3 separate regions of the Homo sapiens genome follow, and all the other regions are linked to region 2. Evidence: promoter capture Hi-C in 16 types of primary human blood cells and fetal thymus (Javierre and others, 2016). All regions are on one chromosome and are shown on one strand. The core of a region is centred on a gene start or on the middle of the fragment in contact, and the rest is flanking DNA. Distances in the headings are between cores, read along the strand shown.

What was found. Contacts are between HindIII fragments. The CHiCAGO score rates a contact against its expected background, and 5 or more counts as called.
Region 1: a contact is called between a fragment that was not itself captured here and the fragment with the promoter of PVT1 in region 2, in 1 of 17 cell types (total B cells). The highest score is 6.1, in total B cells.
Region 3: a contact is called between a fragment that was not itself captured here and the fragment with the promoter of PVT1 in region 2, in 2 of 17 cell types (total B cells and naive B cells). The highest score is 6.5, in total B cells.

The regions. Positions count from the first base shown.
Region 1 is chr8:128,268,735-128,271,761 of GRCh38, forward strand. No RefSeq gene overlaps it. Among named protein-coding and RNA genes, the nearest start is that of MIR1208, 120 kb to the left of the region's middle. The HindIII fragment of the contact is 2,215 bases long and covers 432-2,646 here.
Region 2 is chr8:127,793,272-127,796,325 of GRCh38, forward strand. It overlaps PVT1 (Pvt1 oncogene), which reads left to right and starts at 1,253. Exons shown (of 9, transcript NR_190187.1): 1 at 1,253-1,463. MIR1204 (microRNA 1204) reads left to right here and starts at 2,691; the gene lies at 2,691-2,757. RefSeq lists enhancers at 1-233, 1,376-1,945, 1,946-2,517, 2,239-2,288, 2,389-2,728 and silencers at 959-1,008, 1,029-1,088, 1,099-1,258. The HindIII fragment of the contact is 6,547 bases long and covers 1-2,761 here.
Region 3 is chr8:128,186,422-128,189,348 of GRCh38, forward strand. LOC124902020 (a long non-coding RNA gene) reads left to right here. Exons shown (of 5, transcript XR_007061107.1): 5 at 135-341. Among named protein-coding and RNA genes, the nearest start is that of MIR1208, 38 kb to the left of the region's middle. The HindIII fragment of the contact is 835 bases long and covers 1,089-1,923 here.

The DNA of each region.
Region 1 (3,027 bases), core at 289-2,788, 480 kb after region 2:
CCCCTTACAAACCAGGTCAATGTTTTGTCATATCCTTATTCCCAGGACAAGGCCTTGTACTGTTAAGTTTTTACATTTTTTATTGCACTTAGCCCTGTATCTTTCAAGAGATAGGAGCTCCATAAAAAGTGGTTTGCTTAATTATGCTCTTGTCACCCAATTATCTATATAGGCCCTTGCATGTCCCCAATTCTGCCTCATCTCTGGTCTCTGTGAGGTATTCCCATCTCTCCCAAGGCAGAGAGAGAATAAAGAACATTCCTTAATTGGGGTGTGTGCACACACACATACTATGGAAGTTCTCGCATCCTAATGCTTTGTTGTTTAACTATCATGTGGAGAGAGGTGTTTGGACACCATATTAATAATAGCTCTTAGTGTGTATGTGGCACATTCCATTTTCAAGGCATTTATAAACATTGCAAGATGAAAGCTTGCACCACTCATCTTGGGAAAAGGGAATGTTAATCACCACCATGCCTGCTCCTTAAAGAGGGTCACAGAATCTGAGAGCTAAGAGGGATGTCAGAGTTCACTGGGGCAACCTTCAGTCTCTACATAAATCTCCTTTCCCTTGGAGCATACCAGGGATGGTGAGGTTTTCTCTGCAATCTCTTTCTTCAGTCCAAGCAAATTCTGCCATCCTGTAATTTTCAATTATCTATCTGTCGGTCTATCTATTAATCCATTCTCTTCTCCCTCCTTTCTTTCTTCCTTCTTTCCTTTTACTTCTTCTTCTCTTCCTCTCTGCTGTTCTCCCTCCCCCTCTCTCTTTCTTTCTCCCTCCAGAGTCCTGTTGAAATTGCAGATACAGGAACAAAATGTTAAGCGGCTAAATTTGGAGCGAATTGCTACATATCAGTAGATACTGTAACACCTGGGCAGACTGGGAGGTATGATCACCCTATGTGTGTTAATATTTCAGGCAGTGTAGCACCCTGCCACCTTCAGGTTGCTGCTAGCCTTGGTTCTCCTCTGCTTGCTACGGTTCTCTGATTTACAAGCACTCAGGGCTTCAGTTCCAGACCTTGCTTCTCTCAGCTGGCACAGCACCTTCAGATGTTACTCTTGAAACTGCTGCTCTGCCTGAAATAAGTGTATTATTCTCTCTAAAGCACTGACCTAGAGAACACTGACCAAGCTGTCTTTTCTTTTTGGTATATTATAATAGTTAAAATAAAGTGAATGTTTGTAACATGCCTGATATTTCTCAGATACTGTGATAAGTACTTCCATGTACATAATCTTCATCAAAACCCAGTGAGGGAGGTAATATTTGTTATTGCACCTGTAGATCAGGAAGCAGAGGCCCAGAGGTATTTAGTAGCTTGTCCAATGCCTCACAGCTAAGAAGCAATAGAACTAGGATTTGAATCCAGATCTGTCTGGATCTATAACACATACTATTAATATTAATATGGTATTTGTATGCTATTTGGATGCATACAGTGGGTATTTAATAATTATGATACACTCCCTTCCACCCTTTTAAACCAAGCATCCCTTCCACTATTTTATTCCATCAGGAACCTTCTATTTTTAGAGTCTATCTACCAAATAATTATATTTATAAAATAATAAAAATTTTTTCCAGTTTCATATTAACTACAGAAATCAATCTTTTAAGAATAGCGAAATAGCTAGTATTTTACTAGCATTTGCATAGTGCAGTGGTTGTTATACATATTATTTCACTGACTCTTCAATAACCCATGGAGGTTGATATTACCATCTCCATTTTACAAATGAGGAAGCAGAGTCCTGGTGGAGCTGAACTCCTCACAATCACACTGATACTAAGAAACAGAGCTGGGATTAATATTCTGTTTGACTCCAATAAGTCTGTTCTTTGGAGCAAACCCCTTCTTATGGCTGATGGTTATGAAATGACCAGTGCTTCCAAACTGAGCTGTTGCAACTTCAGGAAAAAAAGGACAAATATTTTTAAAATTTTTAATTAATCTATGCAGCTGCACTATGAATAACTGTATTATTTGCAAGGACCTCAGGTCTATTACACTAGATAACCAGTTAATTGCACTAATATTATTTACAGAAGAGATATTAGTAACAACATTGCCAAACTCTGCGTTCAGATTTAACACAATGTTTACTTAAGTAACATGGTTTTGTAATAATAGCAATAATAATATAAATGATATAATCATTAACAATAGCTGCTACTTATGGAGAACTACCACATGCCTAGTTTTGTGGTAAGTACTTTATATATGTTTTTTCCTTCAAATCCTCCATCAAAAATCTGTCATCTTTACTTTACAGGAGTTCTAGTTTCTTCAAAGGTAAGTAAAATATACAAGCTCGTGCTAATATGGGAACTAGGTGCACATCTATCTGACCCCAAAGCCTGGGCTTTAAATCAGTGCAATACTGATTTAAAGTAGAAAAAAAAAAGCATCTAATTTGAAATAAGCATAAAGAATTTCTAGGCATCTGAACAAGGGAATCTTATACCTTGAGACAAAGGAGAACATTCTGAGGACATAGGGGTAGGAGTAGAGATGAGAGGAATCGTTGACGTTTCACAAATCCCAAATTCTAGTGGTGGCCATTCCCTTCCAAATCTTAGATTCAGAGAAGCAGTTATTCCAGATGGTTGGTGCTTATCTTTTTCAATTGATTGGAAGCTTCTTGAGGACAAACTGCTGGAAGACATTCCATAGACCCTGGGAACAGTGTATGGCATATAATAGAGGCTTAACAAATTTCTTCTGAGTTAGTGTGGACTTACGGGAGGGGAGATGGGAGATGTTGTTATTTTCACAGAATGTGGAGAGGCAGACCTCATCAACACAAATCAAAAGTCTCTGTGATAGGAGAAGAATTTGAAATTGAAGTGCAGGTGACATAAAGACAGCCCTTGGGCTCCTTCCTGCTCTGCCAGTGATTAGCTGTGTAGTTCTGAGTGAGCCCATTTTCCCTCTCTGGCCCACAGAGGATGACGTTAGCTGCTTATCTTTACAAGAGAGTTGCTATGAACACCCTAAGGCAGAGCATATGTGTAAC
Region 2 (3,054 bases), core at 3-2,502:
AACCCCCACCCCATTGCCTAGCTGGGTGCCTGACTCCCCTTAAGTGCTCAGTAGACGTTGAACTGGACGGGCGCTGGCGTGGTGGCTCACGCCTGTAATCCCAGCAATTTGGGAGGCCGAAGCGAGTGGATCATCTCAGGTTCGGAGTTCGAGACCAGCCTGGCCAACATGGTGAAACCTTGTCTCTGCTAAAATTACAAAAATTAGCTGGGCGTGGTGGCGCGCGCCTGTGATCCCAGCTACTCCGGAGGCTGAGGCAGGAGAATCGCTTGAACCAGGCAGGCGGAGGTTGCAGTGAGCCATGATCGGGCCACTGCACTCCAGCCTGGGTGACAGAGTGAAACTTCATCTCTAAATAAATAAATAAATAAATAAATAAATAAATAAATAAAATAAACTTTGAACTGAACAGGGGCAGCTCTTACATCTGTCCAGTCTCGGGTTTATGCAGATAGAACAAGATAACCACATCCCACATGGGAGGCCAGTGTCCACTTGCTCCTTTGGAGGAACTACTGGGCATTTAAGGGACTCGTTGAACACACTCTGTAGGTCAACTCTGCCCGGAGTGGAGGGAGCTGCGCAGACCGCTGGCCCTCTGCACGGGTTTGCAACTCGGCTTCTGGAAACAGCGGGAGACGTCGAAGGAGGCGAGAAGGTGCGCGCGCCCTTCTCACCAGGCCGGCGGATGCTGGGTGGTACCCAAAGAGGCGCTCAGATCACTGGAGCTGGAGCTCAGTCGGCGGTCTTCTGCGGGAACTGCACCTATCCCGGAGCATCTCTGGCCCTCCTATTTCACTGAACTCGCCTTCCTCAGCAGGAAAGTGGGAAGACCGCTTGCTTCCAGGACGGTGTGGGGAAGGGTAAGAGGGCTCAGGGAAAGACCGTGGAAAGCTCGGCGCACAAGCGAGCTGGCATCACCGGGGATTCCCTCCGGCCCGGTGGGACTCCGGCGCGCTTGTAGCGAGGACCCCCAGCCCAGGGCAGAGCCTACCCTCCGCTCCCCCAGTCTGGGCCCTTGGCGGCCGCAGTCGCCCAAGCCCGCCCCGCCTCCGCGCGCGGCCCTCTCCGGCTCAGTGCCCTGCGCTGCCGGGAAGCAGGCTGAGGGGCGCACCGGGCGGCGGGCGGGGACCTGGGGAAGGCCGGGAGCGCCGGGACCGAGGACGCACGCGGCGGGCCGGGCCGCGCGCGCCTCCCCCCTCCCCCGAGGCCCGAGCGCGAGCCGCCGTGACGTCACGGGCAACCCGCCAGCCCCGCGCTCCTCCGGGCAGAGCGCGTGTGGCGGCCGAGCACATGGGCCCGCGGGCCGGGCGGGCTCGGGGCGGCCGGGACGAGGAGGGGCGACGACGAGCTGCGAGCAAAGATGTGCCCCGGGACCCCCGGCACCTTCCAGTGGATTTCCTTGCGGAAAGGATGTTGGCGGTCCCTGTGACCTGTGGAGACACGGCCAGATCTGCCCTCCAGTAAGTTCCAATTTTGTCCCCTGCGTTTCTGGAAACTCTCGAGACTTGGCCCTGAGTAGGGATGCGCTGTGAGTAGTCGGACGGAGGAAAGGGGCTTTCGGAATCCAATATGTGTGTGCTAGGCGTGCACTGTCCTCATCACCAGCCTCAAGACTGGTGGCGAGTTTGGGCGTTTGGGGAGGGTGAGGGGAGGGGGATGACACCGAATGGCCGGTGCATAGAGGCAATTCTGGATTTATGAACTTGATCAAAGGCATATTAACTAATTTCTAAAAATAGACCCCTCTGCAGTCAGAACAGATTTGGAGCCATGATGTGGTTTGGAGGCCCCTCTGGCGAAACTAGAGGTCTGTGAATGTGTGATCCTCCCTCCATCCTTTGACCATCACTCCCCGCTTCCTCTCACACCCCCTCAGGGCTGGGCGAAGGTGATTTCCAAAAACTCAGTAACTCCGTGTTTTGAGACTTTCTCAGTTTTTGCATCGCATGTGAGGGTTTGTTGGGTGCTCCTAAACCCTCATCATGGTCATTCTTCTTGGCTGGGCTGTTGATTTAATTAGGTTTGCCTTCTCTTGCTAACGTGCTCTTATTTATGCCAGTGTTTGTGGTTCTGGGTGTAGACTTTCAGGAAGCACAGCCATGAAGCTGCATGCGTCTGTGTGTGGATGCCTCATGCCTTTTCCTGGTGGTTTGCAGGCATGGAAGATTCTTCTGTTCATCTAAGCTCCTGACTTTAGGCCCTTCTAGAACATTAGAGAGGAGAAGAAATCACGTGCAAGGATTTAGGGACAAGAGGATGAGGTTTTGGTGTTTCCTTTCTGGTATTAGGTTTTCCAGAGAGAGGCTGTTAGCCTGTCTCTCGCCCACTCCACCACTGTGAATCCTGGCTACTGGGGCTAGTTCCTTGCTAGGAAAAAAAAACTCTAGAGAAATGTGTTTGTGTGTGGTGGGTGGGCGGGGGCCCTGAGGATGCAGGGACTGTGTCTGCTGTGTTGTCTGTTATAAGATGTTTCAGACCTATTTTGCATACTGGCAGCGACAAGTTGAGACTTGTTCAACTTGACACAGTCCTGTGGTCATAGCGAATCTTTCTAAAGCTCTGATCAGTCAAGAAGGGGGTTGTATCAATCCTCAGAACCCTGAGTGGAACTTTCTACAGGATTTATTAGGAGAAAAACCTTCCCGGAAGCTGCAGAAGGACAAATACAGAATCCGTGTCTGGGAGAAACCTCGTGGCCTGGTCTCCATTATTTGAGATGAGTTACATCTTGGAGGTGAGGACGTGCCTCGTGGTCTAAAGCTTCGGCACAAGGGCCCAACTGGAATTCCACTTACGGGTATGACTGTGGGGTATATGCTGTACCCATTGAATTCCCAGAGGGATTTGTTAAGTGGTTGTGTTGCTGTTTTGCCTGGTTAAGAGTGGCTTATTCTTGTTGCCTCATCTATCTTGAGTGCAGAATTTTTGCATAAACGGCTTCTCTTGAAAAATAGAAGTCCGTTTTTGTTTTGTTTTGTTTTTTTTCTGATTAACTTTCCTTTTCCTCTGTCTTAAACACCTTCCCCCGCCCCTCGCCACCTCCATGCTGTG
Region 3 (2,927 bases), core at 256-2,755, 390 kb after region 2:
CTGCACTTTTTAAGGTTTTGATGAATACTCCCTAATTATTCTACAAAAAGACTTTACCAAGTTCAAGTTTCTTTCCCAATAATCTATGGCAATAATTTCAATCTCCCTCTTCCCTTTTTTTTTTTAACTTCTAGGTAAACATAAGAAAGGAAAACTTTTGTACGGTGAACTTGGGCTAAAAAGAAGAATGATGTCTCTGGAACTTTTGCTGCTTATAGGAATGAGAGCAAAATCCTGGCATGACCATGATCCTTCAATGAGCACCACTGTGTTGCTGCATTCTGTCTGGCCAATCTAGTCTATAATAGTTTTTTGTTTTGTTTTGATTTTTGTGTGTTTTTTTGTTTGTTTGTTTGTTTTGATGGAGTTTTGCTCTTATTGCCCAGGCTGGAGTGCAATGGCATGATCTCAGCTCACTGCAACCTCCTCATCCCAGGTTCAAGCGATTCTCCTGCCTCAGACTCCTAAATACCTAGGATTACAGGCACCTGCCACCATACCCAGCTAATTTTTGTATTTTTGATAGAGATGGGGTTTCACCATGTTGGCCAGGCTTGTCTGGAACTCCTGACCTCAGGTGATCCACCTGCCTCGGCCTCCCAAAGTGCTGGGATTACAAGTGTGAGTCATCACTTTCGGCTATAATAGTTTTTATGCATCATATTAATTCTGGGTTTTTGCTTTTAAAAAGAAGCCTTTTTTTTTTTTTTTTTTTTTTTTGTAGGGAAGTAAGACTGGATGGTGGGTTAGCAGGGGACTCGAGAAAAGGCAGTCAGTGCTACAGGCGCAGGGATATTAACCTCAGGAGTGACCAGTGGGATGCAACCAGCCGTTGGGGCTTAAAACTCAAGCACATTTCTCGGATGATAATTTCAAAGAAGTAGCTAGTTTTGGTTGAGGCTGCCTCTGGACTATCCCCAGCTTCTCAGTGGAACTCGGTGTTTCTGAATGAATCACAATAAAGAAGCATTACTTGTGGGATGTGGCCAACCTTTCTGTTCAGCTTTTATTGCAGAGCTGATGGCAGCAGCTGGACTTTACAAAGGTGATGGTGGCTCAAAGCCTTTCTGTTCCACTGTGTCTCATAAAGCTTTTATGAAGCCTCAGTCATCTCTTCAGCAGATCCTGTGTCATGAAGAAGGATGCAGAGAACACAAGGAGCACCCCATCCATGGTGCATCCCAGGTTTCTAAACCTTCCAGGGAGGGGAAATCAGCATTTTTGGCTCTGGCCAAGAAGCCAAATTGCTGAAGCTATGGGACTTGTTCCAAACTGCAAGATCTTATTTGATGGGAATGATTGTAGCTTTAGGTAATTCTGCGGCTTATTGGCTTGGGTGAGAGCTCCCTAGTGTCTGCTGGAATGTGATGGCTGTAAGACGCAGGGAGGAGAAATGGAAAAGGAGCGTCTTTATTGACCCAACAGAGCCTTGTAAAAAAGCACCAACTACATATATGCAGTCTGTGCATTTCAAAAGTAACAAACAAACAAAATCAGTTTACCAACTCTTGGGAGAGAAAATGGATTATCATTCACTGCAAATTCTCCTAGGTAAACAGAAGAGTGCTACACCTGTGCAGAGAGAAAAGTTTTATATATGCTCAACTATGGGTCCTCAGTATAATACAGTCCCATCATGTATTTCCTGAGACATCTACTAAGGAGACTTCCTAGAATTGAATCTTTCTCATCTTTTTTTCTCTTTTCTTCCTCAAGTCTTCTGTGACATGTGATAATACAAAACAAAATACAGGTCTTAGAATAAATGTACCTGGAATCAAGTCATTGTGAAATGTTGGGCTTCTTTGACCCTCAGTATTCCCATCGCAAACCAGGAATAATAAGACCTGCATTTCTCCATTGACCATTAGTAAATTGAGCTTCAATTACCTAGTTAGAGAAAAAGTTAAATATTGCCTCCAAAGCTTAACATGCATTTTAATATTTTTGCTTTCTGCTTTTAAAAATATGCTTCTCATTTTCTTCCCCTGACTAGCTCTTTGACTGCCAGAGAGATGTATAAGCATCTTGAGCTCCACTGGTAGAGTTATGAGTTCTTGAATTTAGAGGTTATTAGAAGAATTTTTTCCTACTGTTTTCATGTAAATTACCACTCAGGAAAAAATGGTGGAATAGAATCTTTTTTCCCTTTTATAGTGTCTTTTTCATTGCTTCCAAATTTTTCATAACTTTTCTACAGCTACCAATACCATCTTATATCATCCAGACTGCCATTGCAATACACTCTTAACTCTTTCCATGCTAGCACATCCTATACACAGCATTCATTCATTCATTCGCTCACTTAGCAAACATACCTGGTAGAGCCTGAACATTCTATTAGGCATTAGACATATTAATGAGTTCAAATATCTTCTTCAGATTCCCATCACTTGTCATATAAATGTCAAGGCCCATTGCCTATGATTCAGAATCCTCTGCATTTACTTATTTCAACCTGCTTTGATACCTTTAACCTACTTTTTCCTTTTTTTTCTTTCTTTTAAGAAATAGGGTCTTGCAATGTTACCCAGGATAGATTTTAACCTGTAGGTTCAAGGGATCTTCCTGCTTCAGCCTCCTGGTTAGTTGGAACTATAGGTGTATGCTGCTGGCCCTGGCTCAACATGCTTTTTAATTCTTTCTCTCCCTACATGGTATTATGAACTCTCAACTCCAGGTGGACCAATCTCCTCTTGTGTCTGTGCCTTTGCTTTGGTGGTCCTCTTCTGGGTGTGCCCGCCTATCTAGATTTCACTTGTTCAAACCTAATATTCAGTGGGAAGTTCAGGTATTGCTGCTTTTGTGAAACTCCCCTGACAACAAAGGTTCATAGGACCCTTGTTGTTTAATATCTGAATTTATATAATTAAAACTGCTAGTTATCTTTTTAAGCATATAGGAAAACAACAAGATTTCAAGATACT